2 separate regions of the Homo sapiens genome follow, and region 1 is linked to region 2. Evidence: promoter capture Hi-C in human tissues and cell types (Jung and others, 2019). All regions are on one chromosome and are shown on one strand. Each heading gives the region's core, a stretch centred on a gene start or on the middle of the fragment in contact. The rest is flanking DNA. Distances are from core to core; before and after follow the strand shown. Region 1 overlaps RDX (radixin). Region 2 holds the start of COLCA1 (colorectal cancer associated 1).

Region 1 (3,840 bases), core at 628-3,127, 1.0 Mb after region 2:
TATTGAAGTAGAATATACATACCAAACAGAATATATGAGAAGTGTGTAGTAACAGTAGTCCCAGCCACTCAAGAGGCTGAGGCGGTAGGATCGCTTGAGCCCGGGAGGTTGAGGCTGCGGTGAGCTGGGATTCTGCCACTGTGCTCCAACCTAGGCAACAGGGAAAAAAAAGTGTGTAGTTGATGAATTTTCGTAAAGTGAATATACCCATGTAAGCATTGCCCACATCAAGAAAGAAAACTTGATCAACAAATATCGTGCAGTTATAATACAGCTAAAAATCAAGAAAAATGAAGCTATTTTACAAACAGATACATATATTTACGTTAGAACCATTTTTTTAAAAGCAAGATAATAACAAAATTTAGGTTAGTGATTACCTGTTGGTATTTACAAAGAACAAATAACAGTGGTATATGCAACATTATTTACCATTTCTTGTTATTCAGTTGGATGGTAGATTTATGGGTTTCGTTTTATTATTCTTCATTGTTTATATATGATAGATGTTTTGTATATATCATTTCTTAATAAGATACAGTTTTAGAAAAGAAAAAAATAAGATTATTTTAAAGAAGGATGAATCTGTAAGATCTGATTACAGAAGTTATTCCAGGTGAAAGCTATAATGTGCTGAGGTTGTGATTGTTAGACATATGGGGAAATAAGAAGTCTGATTTAGAGTTTTTATAGTGTGAGTTAAAGTTAGATAAAATGGCACAAGCTGTGTCCTCAGTAAACCTACAGGCTGATGGAAAAAGATACATAAAAACAAATGCAGTAATACGTATTAATATAAAATTTTAAATACAGTTGTTACAGAAACAGTGTTAGTAGGAATCGCTACAGGTTTATACTGGTTAAGGGAAAAGTAAAGATTGTTAGAAAATCGATACAGAAACAGCAAATGAAGTGTGGGAAAATTAAAGGAGAAATAAGTTAATAAAAGATAAAATAATTTAAAAAGCTAAAAAGATATATTTGGATCATGTGAAGAATTCTAGGTGAAGATGCTATTCTGTGGTAAAATTATTTTGGTAAGGCGTGTTAAGTTTTTGAGATATTAGGTATTTACACAATAAAATTATTATTTAAAATAGAGTTTGGAGCTAGGCCTGGCGGCACACGCCTGTGCTCCTAGCTACTTGGTAGATTGAGGTGGGAGTATAGGTTTGCGTCCAGGAGATCAAGGTTGCAGTGTGCCATGATTGCACGCATGAATGGCCAGTGCTCTCCAGCCTGAGCACAACATAGTGAGACCCTGTCTCTAAAAACAACAAAAAATAGAATCTAGCAAATAAAGCACTGTAGATAAATGCTTTCCTAAAGCGAATAATGTATTTACAGTATGAATAAAATGAAATCTGATTTTCATGTTGAAAGAAATATGGGATAGTGAATCACATTCAAAGAATTTGGAGTTAGACCTCAATTTAAATACCTCCTTTGCCTTTTTTGTTTTGCTTTGTTTTTGGAGGCAGGGTCTTGCTCTGTTGTGCAGGCTGAAGTTCAGTAGTACAATCATAGCTCACGGCAGCCCTCAAACTCCTAGGCTCAAGTGATCCTCCCATCTCAGCTTCCTGGAAATAACAGGCACATGCCACCACACCCAACTAATTTTTAAATTTTTCATAGTCTTGCTGTGTTCCCCAGGCTGGTCTCAAACTCCTGACCTCAAGAGATCCTCCCACCTTGGCCTTCCAAAGTGCTGGGACTAAAGATGTGAGGCACCATGTCCAGCTCTTGCTCTGCCTTTTAATATCCACGTGTCCTTAGGTGAATAATGGAAACTCTTTGCGTTTCTGTAGAAATAAAGGTAGTATCTCCTAGTATTATAGCAAGGGCTAAATGAGAGTATGGAAAGCCCATAGCTTAGTGCCCAGTATATGTTAAGTATTCAATAGATGTTCCTAAATGAGGACTTTATAAGCTCTTTGTTTTTCAAATAGATTTAAGATTTCTTGTGATTAAAATAAAACTTTATCACTTTAATAAAGAAAATCATAAAAGTTTTCTCACGCCTAATAACTTCTCTTCTACTTATTATTCCTTTTATTTTTATTACAGATCAACGTAAGAGTAACTACAATGGATGCTGAGCTGGAATTTGCCATTCAGCCCAATACAACTGGCAAACAACTTTTTGACCAGGTATTACACTGCATGAAATATGCAACTTTTGACACCATAGTGTGAATGTTGTTGCATACCTCTTTCTCTGTTTTTCTGTACTTTTGCTGATAATCCAACAGTGTACCACTTGGAATTTTTCATAGTAGCTATTCAGATATCCCTACTACAGCAGTAGGGATATTCTTTATTCTTTCACATTCCTACATTTGTGGGAGAGGACTTCTTGAAAATAATTTTCAGCAGGTATTTATTTAACATTTATGAGAATCATTGTAATGGTGACTAAAAGGGATTCAAGGATAATCCACAAAGTTGTTGAGTGAAATGAGTAGGAATCCTGGGCAGAAGGAACAGCAGGAGTGAAAGGCATAGGGAATTACAGGTTGAGAGCATCTCTTATCCAAAATGCTTGGGACCAGAAGATTTTGGATGTTTTTAGATTTTGGAATATTTGCATATGTATAATGAGATATCTTGGGGATGGGACCCAAGTCTAAACACAAAATTCATTTATGTTTTGTGTACAACTTATACACATAGGCTGAAGGTAATTTTATAAAATCCTTTAAATAATTTTATGCATACTGAGTTTTGACTGCGACCCATCACGTTAGGTTAGGTGTGGAACTTTCCATTTGCAGAGTCATGTTGGTACTGAAGAGGTTTCAGATTTTGCAGCATTTAGGATTTTGGATTTTTGGATTAGGGATGCTCAACCTGTATAGGCTATACAGAGATCCCTAACAACAATTTGGTGTCATAGGTTCATAATGTATGAGGCAAAGGTTGGGATATGGAGGTCAGGTATCCGGTATGTTAAGGAACTGGGACTACTGATCTTATCTTTCTTCTCAGTCTTGAGTGCGTATTAGTCACCTGTGGAGCTTTAAAAAAAGGGAAAGGAGACAGTGCTTGGAAACCCCTTCCAGAGATGCTGATTTAATTGTCTGGGCCTACTCTAAATTATCAGTATTTTAAAATTTAAGCTTCCCAGATAATGTTGTATTGCAATGTAAGCAAGTTTTGCTGAGAAAACGAGGTAAGGGATTGGCCCCAGGGATTAAGTAAGAACATGAAGAAACTGTTGCAAAGACAGAGGAAGGTGGTATATATCATGTGTGGCATGAAACTTAGAGGAGGATAACTTTTATATAAACTTCACGTACACTTTTTCTTAGGAGCAGGAGAGCAATAGCCTGTAGTCAGAATAACTTGATCTTAAAGAAGGAAAGAGTTTCTAGCATTTCAGCAGTAAGTAACACTAGATACTTTGGTTTTGTTAGTTGTCATTCTGTCAAATACAGATTCAAATCTGATGAAATAAAAATTCTAAATTCTCTAAAGTTGTTTATTCTCCTGACAAGTAATATACTTAATCTCCTGATTTGGTAATTCATAAATTTAAAAGTCCTGATAAGGCCTTTTTGGATCATGAAAAGCTTTTTGTGTGGATGTGCAAAATTTTAAAGCAAAATCATAAAGAGCTAAGTTCACCACACCTTGTGAACCAATCTCCACTTTTTTCTTTTTTCCAAACCACTTTTGTTCTGGTATAATATCCACTTCTGTTGATTCTTCTGTGCCTCCTGTTTGTGAATATACAGTCTATCTTATTTGAAAAAAATGTGAATAGAGTTAGCATTTATTGTACTTCATAGCAAATTGAAATGTTATTTATAGTAAGTGAGATGTTTGTGGCAGCCAAAA
Region 2 (3,547 bases), core at 508-3,007:
TGCCCTGCAGTGTGTGGCTACTTCTATACATTGACTTTTAAATTCTTCTCTGCTTGTTTCCTTGGATGATTTCCTTGCTGATAGTTTTTGTATGATTTCCCACGGGATGGTGCAAACTCACAAAGCACTATTACCCCATAGTTAGACACAATCAGGTATATAAAGAACTGAGAAAAATTACCAGGCTCTGGTTAAAGCAGAAAGGGGTGGCCTGGAAGCTGTCTGGGAAATGGTGTGGAGCACTTTGTGTGGAATTGAGCAAAGGCTCCGGGTGCATCTCTGTCTGAAGGTAGGAATCAAAGATCTGGTCGAGGCAGCTTGAGTTTTCTTCACATGAAACACAACTGGAAAATTCTCCCCGTTGCAAATAATTGGGCGTGGAAGAAATTGGTTCAGGCTCAAAATACAGTCCTAGAGGAGAAAGGAAAAAGGCAGGTTTTTGCATAAAAATTGCAAAACACAGATTTGAATGGAGATCTATACTCTGAATATTTACTATGTCTAGGGGGAAAGGGGGCTTAACAAATCCAGAAAAGTAAACGGGAATGCAATTTTGACTCTTTAGTTGTCCTAGCTAATTCAAGCTCCAGGGAAATGAACATGGTTAATAATGTGGAAACTGGCTGTAAAACTGGTTAGGGCAAAAATAAAAGGATGGTGACCCAATTTGTGTCCAAGTGTCACAGTCAAATAATGGCTCAAACTTCCCCTTTCTTGGGCTGTAAAACCATGGACATCCAGCCCCTACCGGCAGTTCACGTAAACCTCTCAGAAGTAACTGACAAAGTTGTTGAGGCTTTGAGAAAACTTCTGATGCTACGGGAAATAATTCTTTTGACTTATGGTGATTGCTTTTTTGAACTTTTCACTCTTACTCAGTAACTTAAGTTTGGAGGAGAGAATTTTGAGAAGTGATTTAAATGAGAATGCAAATGATAATCATGGAAACCAGGAACATAGAGTACCAATTAACACTATTGGCTCGGAAGTACAAAAAGCAAAAATGTTTTCTCAGTGAACATGTTAACATCATGATGTGATCAAAGTAAGTTGTTAAACATCAAACAAAGATAATCAGTAAACATTACTCCTTTTCCATTTTATTATTAATAGGCCCAATTTGTGATAATTATCTGTAAATGCTGGAAGAAGAGAGGATTAGAGTGTGCTCATCAAAGGGACTAAAGGACACTGTGTTCTTCTTGAGGTCTCAAGTTCCTTTAAGGTGAAGCTACGGTGACACATTTAGTGGGGAGAGGCCATAGGCAGAGGTTTCCTTATATACGACCTCCTTAAACTCTTAGCTGTTGAGTAGCAGAGGTAGGAGTGTTTATGTAATCGAGTTATTCTTATTGGGCTGAGAAAACCTACACTTGTTTGAACTGCTTTCTGGGAACAGAGAAGGGGAGGGAAGCCCCTGTCGGCTGGAAACTAAAGGAACAGAGCAAAGGCATTATTTGAGTGTCTTGGGATGTTCTGTATTCCATCTAACAGTGCACTAAAAAAAGATAAGTTCCTGAGAACAATTCTGATTTTGTAGTTCAGTTTAGTTACTTGGCGATGAGGAACTGGAATAAATGTGAAGAACAAACTCTTGAGACAATATAGCAGAGAGTAGAGAATTCAGAAATGAAGACAACATTTATGCTTGTTTTCTTGCTGGGCTTGCATGTGGAGTGACTATGCCTTTTTCACCTTCTGATTGGTTGGATTCCAATTAAATGGTGGTGCCTATCTTAACCCCTGAATCAAGACTGAAAGACTTTTGAGATGGACTTTTGAAAGAGTGTTTGAGGGAACTGTTAATGCTGGCTGTACTGACCTGCAGAAGATGGTGCAACTGGGTCTGAAAGGTGGACACTGCTGCCTCCGGACCGCTGTCAAAGCAAGAATATCACCGTGAAGCAGGCTGAAAGAAATGCTCTGAAGGGAAAGCTAAGACATTTTGATGAGGACTATGTTTCTTTCTGCTATAAGGTAAGCCAGATTCTTCCTTCTCAGAAAAAGTTGCTTTCTTTTTTTTTTTCAATGTTTGACAAATTTTTGTACAAAATATATTGTAAAAAACAAGTGAAAGGGAAAGTGTCAACAAATATTTTATAGAATTTGAAAGACAGGTGCATAGAATTGCGGTAGGTGTATTAAGTCCGTGTAGAATTTAAAATGCCTTTTGACGTTTATAATCCTTTTAAGATTCAATCTGGAAAATTGCATTGGAACAATGAAAACCTGAAATCGAATCATAAAACAGACTTCTTAAATACAACCAATATTATGTTTTATCTAGATCCAATATTTATGTTTGCTTGCTTGGGGAGTTTTTTTCCTAATATCAGATTCTTCTACTTAAATTTTAAAAGTGATTAATTTTTAGTAAAAAATTAATGTAAATAATTTTATGTGGTAAAAATGTAACAGTTTGAGAAAATGCAGCAAAAGGCTTCCTATTAAACTATTCGATTTAAAATTATTAAGGACTAACATTTATTTAATCTCAACTATCTATGGCTTAGTCAATTATTTTTCTCAAAAATTTCATATACCATCTGGCTACTTAGCCTTAGGGAGTCGTTTCCCCAAAGAACACAATTCTTAATTTTGTTAATTCTGAGTAGCTAAAAATATTCACATGTTCTTAGTATACATGAAATATTAAAATAGAAAATATTTTCTTAAAGCTGTGGTTGGTGAGTTGGAACCTACTTTCATTCTAGTTAATGGTCGGGAATTATTCCAGTACTTTGTATGTTTTGTACTACTATCTATAAAAGTTGCTTTTATTTAAACTACTGTATTTAAATACTTAAAAGTTTATGAGACTGCTCTTTTTAACTATTCAAAGTAAAGCAGCCTGCATTTTTCAGTTGAATTAATAATTATACTGAGTAATTTAGGATTTTTTTTTTTTTTTTAAATTTCAGGTGTGGCTTTAAAGTTTAAAGGTACCCGTATTGCTCTGTGATTCTGTGCTGGGAAGCCGAGCTCACCACACCTCTTTTGGGTTACAGGGCATACTCACTCCCATACTCTGAGCCACAGGGAGAGCTGTGCAGGCAGCCACTGCTGAAACAGGAGGCAGTATTAATTTTGAAAACGATCCATGCTGTAATGTCATGAACCAGGAAGCTGGAATCCTTTACCAGCTCTTTATGCAAATATTTGGCTGCAGCTTGAGCTGAAGGACTTGGAAGGAGTGGGTATTAAAAAATCTGCCTCATTGTAGAGCTTTCCTTAACTCCATTCCTCCCCCGGATTGGCCTGTTTGTCTGCCTCCACCCCATGTTATCTCCCTGAGGTGTGTTTACAATATCCTACTTGATATTATCTTTCTAGTCATGGGTTCACTTTCTACTTTGCTCCAAGAATACAAAGAAAGGCAACTCTCTCTTAGATTTCAAACAGCACAAAAATTCACAGTCTACAATTTATAAAAACACATCAAGGCTGTTTAAAAAATTAATGATTTAAAAAAAGAAAGGTAAATGATATCTTTTGATAACGACTAACTCAAGTTTCCTTTTACCCCAAAGGCAAGTGTGTGTGTGTC

The links. The method cuts DNA at HindIII sites, captures the fragments that hold promoters and counts their contacts. A contact is called where the count stands out against the background at its distance.
Region 1: a contact is called between a fragment that was not itself captured here and the fragment with the promoter of COLCA1 in region 2, in 1 of the 25 tissues and cell types used here (mesendoderm cells).

What each region holds. Positions count from the first base shown.
Region 1 is chr11:110,270,847-110,274,686 of GRCh38, reverse strand. It overlaps RDX (radixin), which reads left to right. Exons shown (of 14, transcript NM_002906.4): 3 at 2,068-2,151. Among named protein-coding and RNA genes, the nearest start is that of RDX, 24 kb to the left of the region's middle. The HindIII fragment of the contact is 6,004 bases long and covers 1-3,840 here.
Region 2 is chr11:111,303,258-111,306,804 of GRCh38, reverse strand. It overlaps COLCA1 (colorectal cancer associated 1), which reads left to right and starts at 1,757. Exons shown (of 2, transcript NR_169237.1): 1 at 1,757-1,977. POU2AF3 (POU class 2 homeobox associating factor 3) reads right to left here. Exons shown (of 5, transcript NM_001271458.2): 3 at 1,823-1,877; 4 at 182-411. The HindIII fragment of the contact is 15,057 bases long and covers 1-3,547 here.